Linked DNA regions of Homo sapiens: regions 2 and 3 are each linked to region 1. Evidence: promoter capture Hi-C in human tissues and cell types (Jung and others, 2019). All regions are on one chromosome and are shown on one strand. The core of a region is centred on a gene start or on the middle of the fragment in contact, and the rest is flanking DNA. Distances in the headings are between cores, read along the strand shown. Region 1 holds the start of PLD5 (phospholipase D family member 5). Region 2 overlaps PLD5 (phospholipase D family member 5). Region 3 overlaps PLD5 (phospholipase D family member 5).

Region 1 (4,172 bases), core at 812-3,311:
ACTGGGGGACAGTGAATAGTAGGGCAAAGTGTAATAATAAAAAAATCAGATCGTGCCTGTAATCCCAGCACTTTGGGACGCCGAGGCTGGCGGATCACTTGAGAGACCAGCCTGGCCAACGTGGTGAAACCCCGTCTCCACTAAAAGTACAAAAATTAGCTGGGCGTGGTGACGTGCACCTGTAGTCCCAGTTACTCGGGAGGTTGAAGCAGGAGAATCGCTTGAACCCGGGAGGCGGAGGTTGCAGCGAGCCGAGATGGCGCCACTGCACTCCAGCCTGGTGACAGAGCGAGACTCCATCTCAAAAACAAAACAAAACAAACAAACAAAATTATCAGAGATGCTATACAATGGAATGTATAGTTTTCACAGCCTCACCTCCGACAGGGTCTTGCCCTGTCGCCCAGGGTGCAGTGCGATATCGGCTCACTGTTGCCTCCTCTTCCCAGGCTTCAGCGATCCTCCCGCCTCAGCCTCCCAGGTAGCTGAAACCACAGATGAGCACCACCACGCCTGGCTAATTTATTTTATTTTTAGTGTAGGCCCAGGCTGGTCTGGAACTCCTGGGATCAAGTGATCCTCCTGCCTCCTCCTCCCAAGGGGCTGAGATTACAAACCTGAGCCACTCCGCCTGGCCTTCACAGCTTTTCAATCTGGTTCATATCCTTGTTTTGAAGTGTAATTTCTGCTTCTGCTTCACTTTCCTCACTGGAAAGGAGGGTTAATAACATTTATCTTGCAGGATAACATGAGACTTAGAGATAGCCCACAGGTCGGGGCATCTATTGCACAATATAGTTCAGCTCCTAAGAAAACCAACCTAGCACAACCAAAATGTGTGTATTTGTGTTTAGTTGTTTCATCCCCATATTGAATGTGCACAGGATTTTATTTCAACTACTATTTTTACTATACCATTTTTTTAAATGGAGACTTTGAAAAGATATGAAACACAATCCCTGTCCTCCTAAAAGTTTGTGAAATCCCAGCCAGAATGTCTTTGAAACCGTCATTCAAGTAGGGCAGTTCTGCCGAGGGCTAGAGAGCCTTCAGTTTACCCTTGGCAACACCCTCTAAAATCCCCTGTATACCTCTCCAGCTTCCATACACTTCCCAAGCTTTTAACCAGACACGAGACACCCTGAACACCAGCTGTTTAGCATTTAGATAAAACCAAAAAATGTTTCGAGAGGTTGACTCCAAAGATAGCAAAAGATGAAGAGATTGAAGATTTAATCGCGAACAAGCCACCCTATTCCTAATAATCATCACGCTTGGCTGGGCCCCGAAGGAAAAGCCTGGACCCTAGGGGCCTAGAAACAGAGAAAAGAAACAAATGCACAGCAGTTGGGCCACGTCCACCTAAGGAACAGTCACCGCACAAGCGGAGCGTTGCAGAGGAGCCCTGGATCACCCTCCCAGGATCGGAATGGGTGCGGCCCGGGGAGCCCGGTTCTAGGTGGACACCGAGGGCTGGGGAGCAACCGGTCCCGCGTGCCTGCCCGAGGGGCTACTGCCCCCGGGCGTATTTGCATCGCCACACCATCGGATGAAAGTAGCGTGTACGGCTCCAGAAAACACATGTCTCTCGGCTATTTTCAGGGGGGAATGCTGGGCACCCTCTGCTCTAAGTCCCTTGGGGTGGGAAGTTAGTGAACTTTCAGAATGGGGGAAGGCGCAGCCCAAGCGAGCCGGGGGCAGGGTGAGGGGGCGCCGCTGGATAGAGATGGGGGAAGGGCGGAGGTGGTTTCCTGAGTGTCTCCCTCCGGAGCCATCCCCGCGCTCAGCCAGCAGGACCGAGGAGGCGCGGAGACGGCGCTCACTTCTCCCCTCGCCTGCCGGCTTTCCAGTAAAGATGCGCCAGGGAGAGGTGTAGCCTGCTCGGGAAAGGCGGGTGCGGAGCGGGAGCGCGGCCGCCCGGGCCTGGGCGCGGCGGGAGGGGCGGCGGCGGCTCCTCACTGCACCAACCTGCAGGCGCGGGCTGGCTGGGCCAGCCGCGGCCCCTCCCACCGCACCCCACCCCCGCCGCCGCCGCCGCCCCGGGAGCCGGCCCGGGTCCCAGTAGGTGCCGCAAGGAGCCGGCGAGCGGAGCGCCCGCTCGGGACCGCAGCCGCCGGGCGACGTCGCCGCCGCACCGGGCACTTCTGTCTCCCCGGAGCAGGTTCCTTTCCCTCCCTGTCCCCTCTCGTCCCCCTTCTCCCCGTCCGTCCCCCTCCGCCCCCGCCCCCGCCCCCGCCCGCACCTCGCCCTCCCTCCTTCCGCCCCGCGCCTCCCGCGATCGCCCCCTCCCGCCCGGCCGCGCTCCCAGCTGGCGCTCAGCACCCCGCGCTCCCCGCGCCCGCTCGCTCCTCCAGCTCCTCCAGCTCAGTCTCCAGCTCCACCTCCGGCTCCCGCTGGGCCTCCCGCTCGCCCTCCGCGCCCGGCTCCCCGCGCGCCCGTCCCGAGTCCGCTGCTCGCCGGCGGCCGCCCGGTCATGTCAGGATGGAGATCCGGCAGCACGAGTGGCTCTCGGCCTCCCCCCATGAGGGCTTCGAGCAGATGAGGCTCAAAAGCCGCCCCAAGGAGCCCTCCCCAAGCCTGACCCGAGTGGGCGCGAACTTCTACAGCAGCGTCAAGCAGCAGGACTACAGCGCCAGCGTCTGGCTTCGGAGGAAAGACAAGCTGGAGCACGTAAGGGCGACTCGCTCCCGGGGGCCTCGGCCAGGCACCTGCCGCATGCACCCTCCCCGTGGTGGTGGCATGAGCGCGCGCGGGGCGCGGGGGGCAGGCGAGGGGATCCTGGCAGGCGCCGACGTCCTAGGTCGGATTCGGGGGCTTCTCTGCCTGCAGTTTCTTGCCTTAATGACCGGGCTGCGGGGAGGGGAGGGCAGGTTCCCTTTCAGGCTCTTGGTCCCTGCCGACCCGACCTGCCCACCTGCGTCTCCCGGTAGGGTTCATTTGCACGGGGTTCTGGAGGTGCCTGTGCAGAGTGAGCACGAAGGGGAAGTGCCACCAGCGTGGCTCCGAGCAACCTGGCGTTGCATGGTAGTGGGCTTTAGAGCGGCGTTTGCCCGCGTCTTTGGGGGCTGTTTTACTCAGTCCAAAAACTAGCAAATTAACGAATGAGTAAAGTTGGCGCCGCTAGCGACCAGCGTGGACCCGCGCACAAGCCATTAGAGTTTTTTGCAGAGTGTCCGCTGGGATGAGCAGTTGGTGATCCTCTCTACTTGAGCCCAACTAGGGAGAGATTTGCGCGTTGCAAGGAGAAAGGCTAAAAGCGAGCGGATCGTCGGGCTCCCCAGAAATCCTCCCCTCTGGAGGGTGGGAGCCGGTGAGAGGGGACCTCTACTCCCAAGGAGTGCCGACTTCACGCGAAGTGAATTGGCTCTGGAGTTGAGCTCCTAAGGCTTGCTATTTTGAAAGAAAAAAAAAAAACCTTCTAAAAAGGCGTTTAGTGGATCCACAGTTTCAAATTTGATCCATCAGCATCTTCTTAAACCAAATGTTAAAATTAAACTAAGAGAATTATCTCAAGAGTGCAGCACAACTAGCTAAGGAGAAGATGCTATTTCTCCCTGCAGAGCTGCAGAATCCAAATTGAGTCTGCTAATGGAATGTGGAGGTTTCCTTGTATTTGGGTCAGGACGCCAACAATGATAAAAAAGATAAGACCAAGAACTCCTGGAACTCACGCATTTCCAACTGCTGCACCGACCTGCTTCCCATCTGCCCCCCAAAGCACTCCTCCTGGGCTCTGCAGCACCAACAGGCTTCTTCCCAGGAGGAAACACGCGAAGAAGGGGCATTTCTCTATTATAATAATCTGAAAGGAAGGTCTGTGCCTGCTTTCTGAGGGCCTGATGAAGTCACTGAAAGCTCTAATATGAAGCTTTGAGTTGGATAACAGCACTATTTTATGTGTAGAGAGCCATTTGCTAATGTCAAAGGGATGCCTCATATCCTTAAGACTATGGAAGTCGCTGAAGGTTTCTAGGATGGCAAGTTGTTTGAAAGGCAACGTATCCATTAAACATGCCCTCTCCAGAATTAGTGAAGGGGCTGGTGGTGTTATTAGTTTAAAGGGGGCAAACAGCATCTTTATGCATTACATGCAAAGAGCATGTAATCAACCAATGATGTGGCTGATTTTAGTATCAGGGATAACAGTCTAGCCTTGGGAGGGTGATAGAACG
Region 2 (4,270 bases), core at 825-3,324, 81 kb after region 1:
ACCTGTAATCACAGCTACTCGGGAGGCTGAGGCAGGAGAATCACTTGAACCCAGGAGGCAGAGGTTGCAGTGAACTGAGATTGTACCACTGCACTCCAGCCTGGAGGACAGAGCAAGACTCTGTCTCAAAAAGCAAACAAACAAACAACAGAAATTAATTCCTTATAGAGACTGGGAAATCCAAGATCAGGGTTTTAGCAGATTTGGTGTCTGGTGAGGGCCAACTCTCTGCTTAATAGATGATGCCTTCTCGCTGTGTGTTCACACAGTAGAATGAGCTCGATAGCTCTCTGGTGTCTCTTTTATAAGGGCACTAATCTGATTAGTGATGGCGGAGCCTTCAAGACCTCATCACCTTCCACATGCCCTACCTTCTAATACTATCACACTGGGGATTAGGGTTCAACAAATGAGTTTGGGAGGTGGGAGAAACAAATATTCACACCACAGCAGTGCCTTTCACATAGTAGGTTTTATATGGTGTTGAATGAATAAAGGCATAACTTAAGAGAAAAGCTGAGGGTCTATATAGTAGAGCATATAACACATAGCTATATGTGACTTATGTTATCTATTGGACTTTGAGTAACAGGCTATAGGTCTCATCTCTTTAATATATATCACATGTCAATAACTGTATGAGATGAGTCCTATGGCCTGTTCCCAAAGTCCAATGAGGTGTTTAGAAGTGAGTGACAATGTGGTGTGTCCTAGGAGAAATATATATTATATATATAGCCTACTTTATACAAATAATATATATATTATTTTATTATATAATATAATATTTATATAATATAAATATTTATATTATGTATAGTATAATTAAATATTTATATTTTATATAAATATATAATATATATATTATTTGTATAAAGTAGGCTTTTGATTATGTTCCTGAGGAGAAGATGGATCTAGAGGATCAGAGGAGGTTACATGCACCTATATTCCTATGTCCACAGGTTTCAGAAGCTTGAAGGTAATGAGTGAGGACAAATTAGATATAGTTAGAAATTACTAATGGCTACAGTGCCATTTTCTTGATCATTGATAACCTGTAACCACATTGATCAAATGAATAGAAATATGTGGAGGAGAATGAGTGCATACAAAATACCTCCCTCTTCTCCGGTACTTGAAAACTAAAGCACATAGAATAAAGGTATGAGTGATTTTATTAATAGGGTGGATCTAAGATGCTATTTATTGGAAAAAGAAGTATTGTGGTGACAAGTTTTTGGGAAATTGAATGTGTTGGTTGGCTTTGAGTTTCTCCTTGAAGATGGTGTCAAGAGCATTAGAAATTATGAATTACACATACCAACAATATAATGAAGATGAGTAATCTCATTCATTTTGCTGTGGTCTTATAGGAAGGAATTACTCTTGATGGGCTACAGGAAGTGCAAAGCTTAAAATAAGCAAATATGAGTTCTGTTCAAATTTTTATCCTATTGTTGAGCCTCCTGGATACTGATGATTCATGATGGATGCTGCACAGGTCCCATTAGGTGAGAAGACACAGAAGCCACCATACATGGGATGCTAGAGAAAATACCATTGATGTGGTGGCCTATTAAGTCTGATGTTGATGGTAAAATCAATGCAATAAATGGAAGTCCTAGGATAAATAAGCTAATTAGCTGCATTGCCTAGAAATTAAATAGGTTTGAGATGGAGGAAGTCTCTGGAGAGATGCTCATAGGATTACAAAAGAAGTGGTGTGGTTCATGTTGATAGCCTTGACTGCAACTTTAAATGCCCTCCTATAAATGTGGACTCAAGAATAATAGCAAAACTTTCTTAGGTGCTTCAGGTTAAGCTATGATACAGTTTACGTTCACTCTTCCTTCCTTTCCATTTACTTGTTTCAACACTCCTCATTCATTACTTTTTGCCTTTGTACTTCATCTCTAACTTCCCATCTTACTCCTTGGATTTAGCCATCCAAGGAGTAGGTGGATAATCTTCCCAGTTCACATCCTGGACACCTAAGGACTCAGCTCTGGGCATCTGCTTACTGGCTCTATGAAGTGCCCAGACTCCCTAAGACCCACCAACCAGTTCACCTTCCTTGATGTGGCCCTCCCTGTATTACACATAGATATAAGGAGAGCATATCTATTTGGAGAAATTTGTTGTTTGCATTCTGAAATTTGCCATGTTTGGATTTATAGCTTGTGTTGCAAAAGTGCTTGATTAATTTCCTCTTTTATTTTACCACTGTGCTTATTTTGTTTTCAATAGTAAAAACAAAATATAAAATATATTTAATATATAAAAGTGTCTTAAGAGATAGATAAAATACCTGATAGGGAAAAGGGGGGAATCACATCTGTATATACTTAAATCTCACTTTTTAACTAACTTCAGCCTTGTCCATAGGATTTAATATTTCTGATGGACACTTTGGCTGATTTAATAAGTTCATAGAATGTATAGCTTGTTAGCTTACATGTTCTGTCATAGCAAGGGCAGGCTATATTGCAATGTTGCTACACCTAGGACTTCCCCAGTTTTTGTTGATTCGGCATGGAGATTCCTTGCAGAACTGTGTTTACGACTTAAGTTTAAAATCACTGATGGATAAGGAATACCCGTTTATCCAATCTAGGACTTAGAAGAACTGCCTCTCAAATTTGTGTGAAAGTGCATGAACAAATAACGGATTAATTTCTTAAGATACTGAAAATTAAATACTGCATACAAATTGACTTTACTAGTTTAGGATTATAAGTGTTTCCTTTCCCTGCGTCTCTTCTTTGTATGGAGTGTCGATTTACTTAATCGGGTTTTTAAGTTAAAAAACTTTAAGATAACATAAAAACTGAAAAAGTGCACAAATCATAGATGTACAGCTCACATTTTTGCAAAATGAACACAATCTTGTAATTAGCACCCCGCTCAAAGAATAAAACATCACTGGTTCCCCAAGCCATCATGTGGCGTCTCATGATCCTGATTTAGAATTCCTAATCAAGATCTGCTTATTTTTAAGCTTTAAATACCCTTCTTTATTTTTTGTTTTAAAAAAGAAGCGAATAATCCCATTTATGTAACAGTGCCGCCATGGATAAAGTGGACGTAATACCTGGATGCTGCACGTAGATGGAAATCTTGAGGCACATGCTCACCACACTACTAGCAGTGGCGGAATTTGAGAGATGTTTTAGAACTTCTCAGTTGTTTTTATTCTTATTTAAATAGAGTTTTTCATGACAATGAGTATGTGAAGTTTACAAAAAAACATATAAGCATTTTTTAAGGAACTCTGGTACTTTAGAATGTCTTTGGACATGCCTTTGGAATGTCTCATGATGGGCATCGGCCAAGGTATTTTTTAAATCACTGGGCAACCGAGTCCATGCCCTAGACACTTTGTGCCCTTTGTGGGGAAGAGTTCTGTGCTCCCATGAGAGGTGCTCTTAAGTTGTCAGCGAGAGGTGGCAGAGAGAATGCTTCACTCTTTGCTTTATACAGAAGCTTACAGCTGAGCTACTCAATGTACTGGAAACAGCTGCAAATAGCAGAGATAAATTATCAATAGCAAAGATTAAAAATATGTCAGTTAACTTTCTGTTTATCTTTGTAAGGAATAAGTTTAATCAGAAATAACGTAATAGCCTTTCTGGGTCTTCCACATTGAGATATAACTGATGCTTCAACTTTGGCAGAGGATCCATTTTGAAGAGTTGCCAAGTACAATGGTGAGACCTCTTGGGCTCTCGCAGAAGGTGGGCTCGGTGGCTCCCCTGCCTAGGATGGCCCACTGTGTTCCTCGGGAAGAGGGGTGTCTGTCTGACTCCTTTTCCCCAAAGCTTTCTATTACTGTTACTTTAAAATGTGCAAAAGTAATATATATCCTTATGCACTCTAAAGTCAGGAAATATAAATTCTTATTTCATCTTAAGGGAAGATGAAAAAGGGCTGATAACTCTAAATCTGACTTATAACTGAGGAAACTAAGATAAGCTTAGTAAGCCAAATTAATTTTTTTTTAAAGTTTTTTTATGACTACTAAAGAAACACATGGTAATTTCGGAAGATTCATAACATGGTGAAAAGAAAAGTGAAATAATTTAGGGCTAATAACTGTTGGTTTTATATAGAGATATTTATAATCTAGCCTTTTTCATACACACACACAACACCACACACACCTACTAAAAACATACCATACACAGCATTTTTACTAATGGCAGTAGGTTAAATCTTTCATCAATTATATACTCATAGTATCCTGCATTTTGCTTCATAGCACTTACTACTA
Region 3 (4,781 bases), core at 1,060-3,559, 110 kb after region 1:
TGAGAGTTCCTGGTATAGTCTTATTTCTGGGTCTCAAGCTCCCTAATCAAATACCTGTTTTTACTGGGACTGACTTTTATCATCAGAACATCCCTTAAAGTAGTTGGAAGCTAGCAGCCTTGGATTAAAAGCTGGCTGATAGAATTCAAGTCTCATACAGTGGTGTGAGTTGTGGCACCAAAGCTGTGTTTGAAACATAAGAATGTGGTTGACTTTTCAATCTATTTTTAAAAGGCTGGTGAACTACTTCATTCTTGGGTAGCCCTAGACCTTTACTTCTCCTTGCTGGCAATAAAATTCAGGATGGCCGGGCATGGTGGCTCACGCCTGTAATCCCAGCACTTCGGGAGGCCGAGGCGGGCAGATCATGAGATCAGGAGTTTGAGACCAATCTGACCAACATAGTGAAACCCTGTTTCTACTAAAAAAAAAAAAAAAAAAAAAATGCAAAAAATTTAGCCGGGTGTAGTGGTGTGCGCCTGTAGTCCCAGCTACTCAGGAGGCTGAGGCAGGAGAATTGTGTGAACCCGGGAGGTGGAGGTTGCCATGAGCTGAGATCGCACCATTGCACTCCAGCCTGGGCAACAGTGCGAGACTCTGTCTCCCCCCGCCAAAAAAAAAAAAAAAAAAACAAAAATCAGGACTGCACTCAGCTTGCACTATAAGATGGCTGTATTCATGGAACAGCTTGAAACTACAAGTCATGCGACGAGTCTTTGCCATGACTTTTGTGTCCTCTGCCACCCACTGAGGGAAGTGTCTGCCTTCCCTGATGGCATGAGAAACGTCACGCAGGCTGTAAGAACACGCCACCCAGGCGCCCATCTCATCTCCACACTGAGCATGAGCCACACCCGCCTGGAGGCGTGAGGGTCTAACCACCCTCTTTGGTTACAGATCATCATTTTTTTTTCCTGCCTGTGTCTTAGGAGGATCACAGGAGGTAGCATTAAAGCTTTTCTAAGCATTATTCATGCTACTTGACCCAATGTCTCTGTGTGAAGTCCCACTTATTTAGAAGAACAAGGAACTGCTCCTAGCTCCAGCCAGGGAACTAAAATATTGGTTCTTAGATAATACGTAGATCACAGTGAATCTTTTTTATTTGGAGATTACTATTCCATTTGGTGCTGGCATTGCCACATGACTCTAGGATGAAGGAAACCTATTCTCTGGACCCTTAGTCAAGAACACGTGTCCATAATTTCAGAAACAGCAGAAGTGTTGCTGGAAGGAGCACACTATGGGGTATGATGTGGTGTGGACATTTAAGAGTATCATGCTCAATTCGGTGATGAAATTGTGTGAATAAATTGAGTGCAAGAAAGCCCACACGTTCTCAGTTGCCACTTCACTTAATCTACCAGCAGCATTTGAACTGATACACTAGGTCAGCCCCTCTTCCCAGAAGCACTTTTTTTTGCGGAGTTTCCAAGACTCCCCATTCTCCTGACTTTGCTGTGGTCTCCTTTGCTGATTTTACCTCGTAGTGCTGATGTCTGACTATTGAAGTGACCTGGGGCACTTCTTTTGATGATCCCACCCAAACACCTCCCTGTAAATACCATGTACACACTGACAACTCCAACATTTATTACCTTTAGCTTAGACCTTGCCCCTGAGCTTCAGACACACATCCAATTGTCTATTCGTTTGATGCTTACTTTGTATGTCCAATGGGCATCTCAAGCCTAACACAACCAGATCAAAACTCCTGACCTTCCCCTCTAAAATTAGGTTCTCCTGCAATAATTCTCTTCTCATTAATGGGAAGTCTATCCTTCCAGTTGCTCAGGCTAAAAACCTTAGGGTTTTTCTTGACTCTGTTTGTCCTCTCAGATTTCAGATCCAAGTCTGTAAATAAATACTATAGGATCTATTTCCAAAATATATTCAGAATCTGGCCATTTTTCACCTCTTCTAATGCAACATCCTAGTTTAAACTACATTATGTTTCTCCCCTGGATTGTGGCAAAAGCTTTCTGGTTCTGCCCTTGTCTTTCCAGGTTATTCTCAACACAGCAGCCTAAGTGTCCTTTAGAGTGATAACTACATGACATCACTCACTCTTAGCTGGTGGTTCTTCCTTTAGCATTTGGTTTTCCATTTCACTTGGGGTAAAGCTTGCAATGGCCTACAAGGTCCTGCAGGAGCCTCTTACTGCCTTGGTGATCCTTCCCTGCCACTCCCTTGCTCTATCCCATATCACCTCCCTCCTTGCTCTATCCCATACCACCATCCCCCGTACTGGCCTCTTTCTTCCACAAAAATGCCAAGAACATTCCCACAGCAGGACCTATTGATGCAGGGAAGCAAGCCCCATAACGGGGGCTTAGCCCTGGAGGGCTCTTGACCTCATCCAGGAAGGAATTCAAGGGCATGCTGGTAATGTTAGAGAGCAACTTTTACTGAAGCACCAGTGAACAGCAACAGCATAGGTACTGCTCCTTGTGGAGCAGGGCTACCCCACACACAGTGTGCTTAGTGTAGCAGCTCAGAGGCAGTTCTGCAGCCATATTTATATCCACTTTTAATTACATGCAAACTAAGGGGAGATTATGCAGAAATTTCTAGAACAAGGGTGGTAATTTCTGGGTTGTGAGATTGTTGCCATGGAAAAGGGTGGTAACTTCAGGGTGTTGCCATGGCAATGGTAAACTGACATGGAACACTGGCGGGTGTTTTATGGAAAGATGCTTCCACCCTATCCCTGTTTTAACTAGTCCTCAATTTGGTCCAGTGTCCAAGCCCTGCCTCTGCAGTTGAGTCTTGCCCCCTGAGTTTAGTCCCACCTCCTACCTCTTTATAGCTTGTTCTTCCGTCTGCCTGGAATCTTCTTCCCCCAGATTAACCCCATAGCTAACTTCCTCACCTGCTTCAGATCATTACTTGCAGGTTTTTACACATGGGCTACCTCTTGGTGAACTTTCCCTGGCCATCCTTTAAAATTATAACTCTTTTGGGCTACACTTACAGCCATCTGAAATATTATATATTTTATAGATTTTTTTTAACTACCCTTTCCATCTTTCACAAGAAGGGTGCAGAAATATTTGTTGTGATCACTGCTGTATAAACATTGTCTGTGTACAACAGGGGCTCCAATAAATGTTTACTGAATGGATGAAAGAATGTATGTGAATGCTGCATTGGCATCAGAGTTGGCACATATTTATGAGGCTGACTTTTTGGCATCAAGAGCAAACTGTTCACCAAGGAAGTTACCAGGGGAATCTATTGAATCAATGCCTTTGTTCACAAATAGGAATTTTTGCTTTCATCCAAAGAAACAAGATTTTATTTGTTTTGGTTTTTAATGAGTTTAATTTAGCTGAAAATGTTTCCAGGGCTGTCGACCAATGGCCAGGAAGTCAAGAAGTTGCTCTTTTTTAGCAGAAGGTGAGGTAACGACTTCAAATAGGGTAATTATATTTATTTTGCCATCCTTTAAATTTCATGTTACTAACTGAATTTGTTGAATTCTTGCAGCTCCAAAACTACTGATTATAGATTCATAAAACTAAGAGATCCTAGGCTTCTTCTGGAAGGGTTATATTTGCATATTCTGTGTCATGTAACATACTGAATCCTTCTCTTAAGACACCTGTAGGAAATTATACTTCCTACACTAGTGGTAATCCTTTCCTTTTCTTTTTTAACATTTGACATAGAAAATTTCAAACATAAAAGTATGTAGAAGAGTATAATACAACCTTCATGAATCCATAATGTAGCTTCCAAATTTATCAATGTATGGCCAACCTAATTTCCTTTATAGCTTTTCTGATTATCTTCTATTTTCTTTTTCCCATACTGAGAATCCTAGTCCTCAACAACAATGAAAATTATATATTTAGAATATTACATAATTTTTTTTTGCTCAACCCCACCAAGACACCTGAACTGATCTTAGAAAACAGTAGCCAATACTGCCACCAACAATACAGTTACTGAAAGTTTAAGAGTTTCAACACATCATTTTAACATCAGTTCTTCTGAGTGTAATAATACAAGTACATACACATTTAGGTTAATTTGTTTTGGTTTATGTTAAATTTTTAGGTGTTGCTTTTTACAAAAATAATTTTGCTTTATAATTAATGTAAATAAGTCAAATCCACTAAACAAGATACTTTCACAGAAGTCTAGCTTCCATTCTTGACCATTTCATTCTAGAACTTTCCTTAGGTAACCACTTAAAAAAATCTTGGCCCAGCGCAGTGGCTCATGCCTGTAATCCCAGCACTTTGGGAAGCCGAGGCAGATCACGAGGTCAGGAGATCAAGACCATCCTGGCTAACATGGTGAAACCCCGTCTCTACTAAAAATACAAAAAATTTGGCCGGGCGTGGTGGCGGGTGCCTGTAGTCCCAGCTACTCAGGAGGCTGAGGCAGGAGAATGGTGTGAACCCGGGAGGTGGAGCTTGCAGTGAACCGAGATCTCGCCACTGCACTCCAGCCTGGGCGACAGAGCAAGACTCTGTCTCAAAAAAAAAAAAAAAAAAATCTTTATGGCTTATTCTTCTGTTGTTTTTTGTTAGCTTTTTGCAATTGTTGACTGATGTTTGATGGAATGGGGAGGCCAATGAATGCATGGTGAATTATTTTGATTAAGGGGTAGGTACATCCTCTCTATGAATGTTCCGTAATTGAGTCTACTCTCCTCTGCTGATGGGTTGTTTCTAGGCTTTTGCTGTTTCACAGAGTCCTGCAGTTCATTCTTTTCAGATATATCTTTCTAACCAGTGACTCTTGGGCATCAATTTTTATAGAAGAGGGGT

Evidence for each region. The method cuts DNA at HindIII sites, captures the fragments that hold promoters and counts their contacts. A contact is called where the count stands out against the background at its distance.
Region 2: a fragment that was not itself captured here is called in contact with the fragment with the promoter of PLD5 in region 1 in 2 of the 25 tissues and cell types used here (hippocampus and small bowel).
Region 3: a contact is called between a fragment that was not itself captured here and the fragment with the promoter of PLD5 in region 1, in 2 of the 25 tissues and cell types used here (aorta and bladder).

What each region holds. Positions count from the first base shown.
Region 1 is chr1:242,522,586-242,526,757 of GRCh38, reverse strand. It overlaps PLD5 (phospholipase D family member 5), which reads left to right and starts at 2,061. Exons shown (of 10, transcript NM_001372062.1): 1 at 2,061-2,670. The coding sequence starts at 2,482. The HindIII fragment of the contact is 9,545 bases long and covers 1-4,172 here.
Region 2 is chr1:242,441,217-242,445,486 of GRCh38, reverse strand. The region is part of intron 1 of PLD5 (phospholipase D family member 5); the gene reads left to right. Among named protein-coding and RNA genes, the nearest start is that of PLD5, 81 kb to the left of the region's middle. The HindIII fragment of the contact is 3,642 bases long and covers 254-3,895 here.
Region 3 is chr1:242,415,237-242,420,017 of GRCh38, reverse strand. All of the region lies in intron 1 of PLD5 (phospholipase D family member 5), which reads left to right. Among named protein-coding and RNA genes, the nearest start is that of PLD5, 110 kb to the left of the region's middle. The HindIII fragment of the contact is 3,828 bases long and covers 396-4,223 here.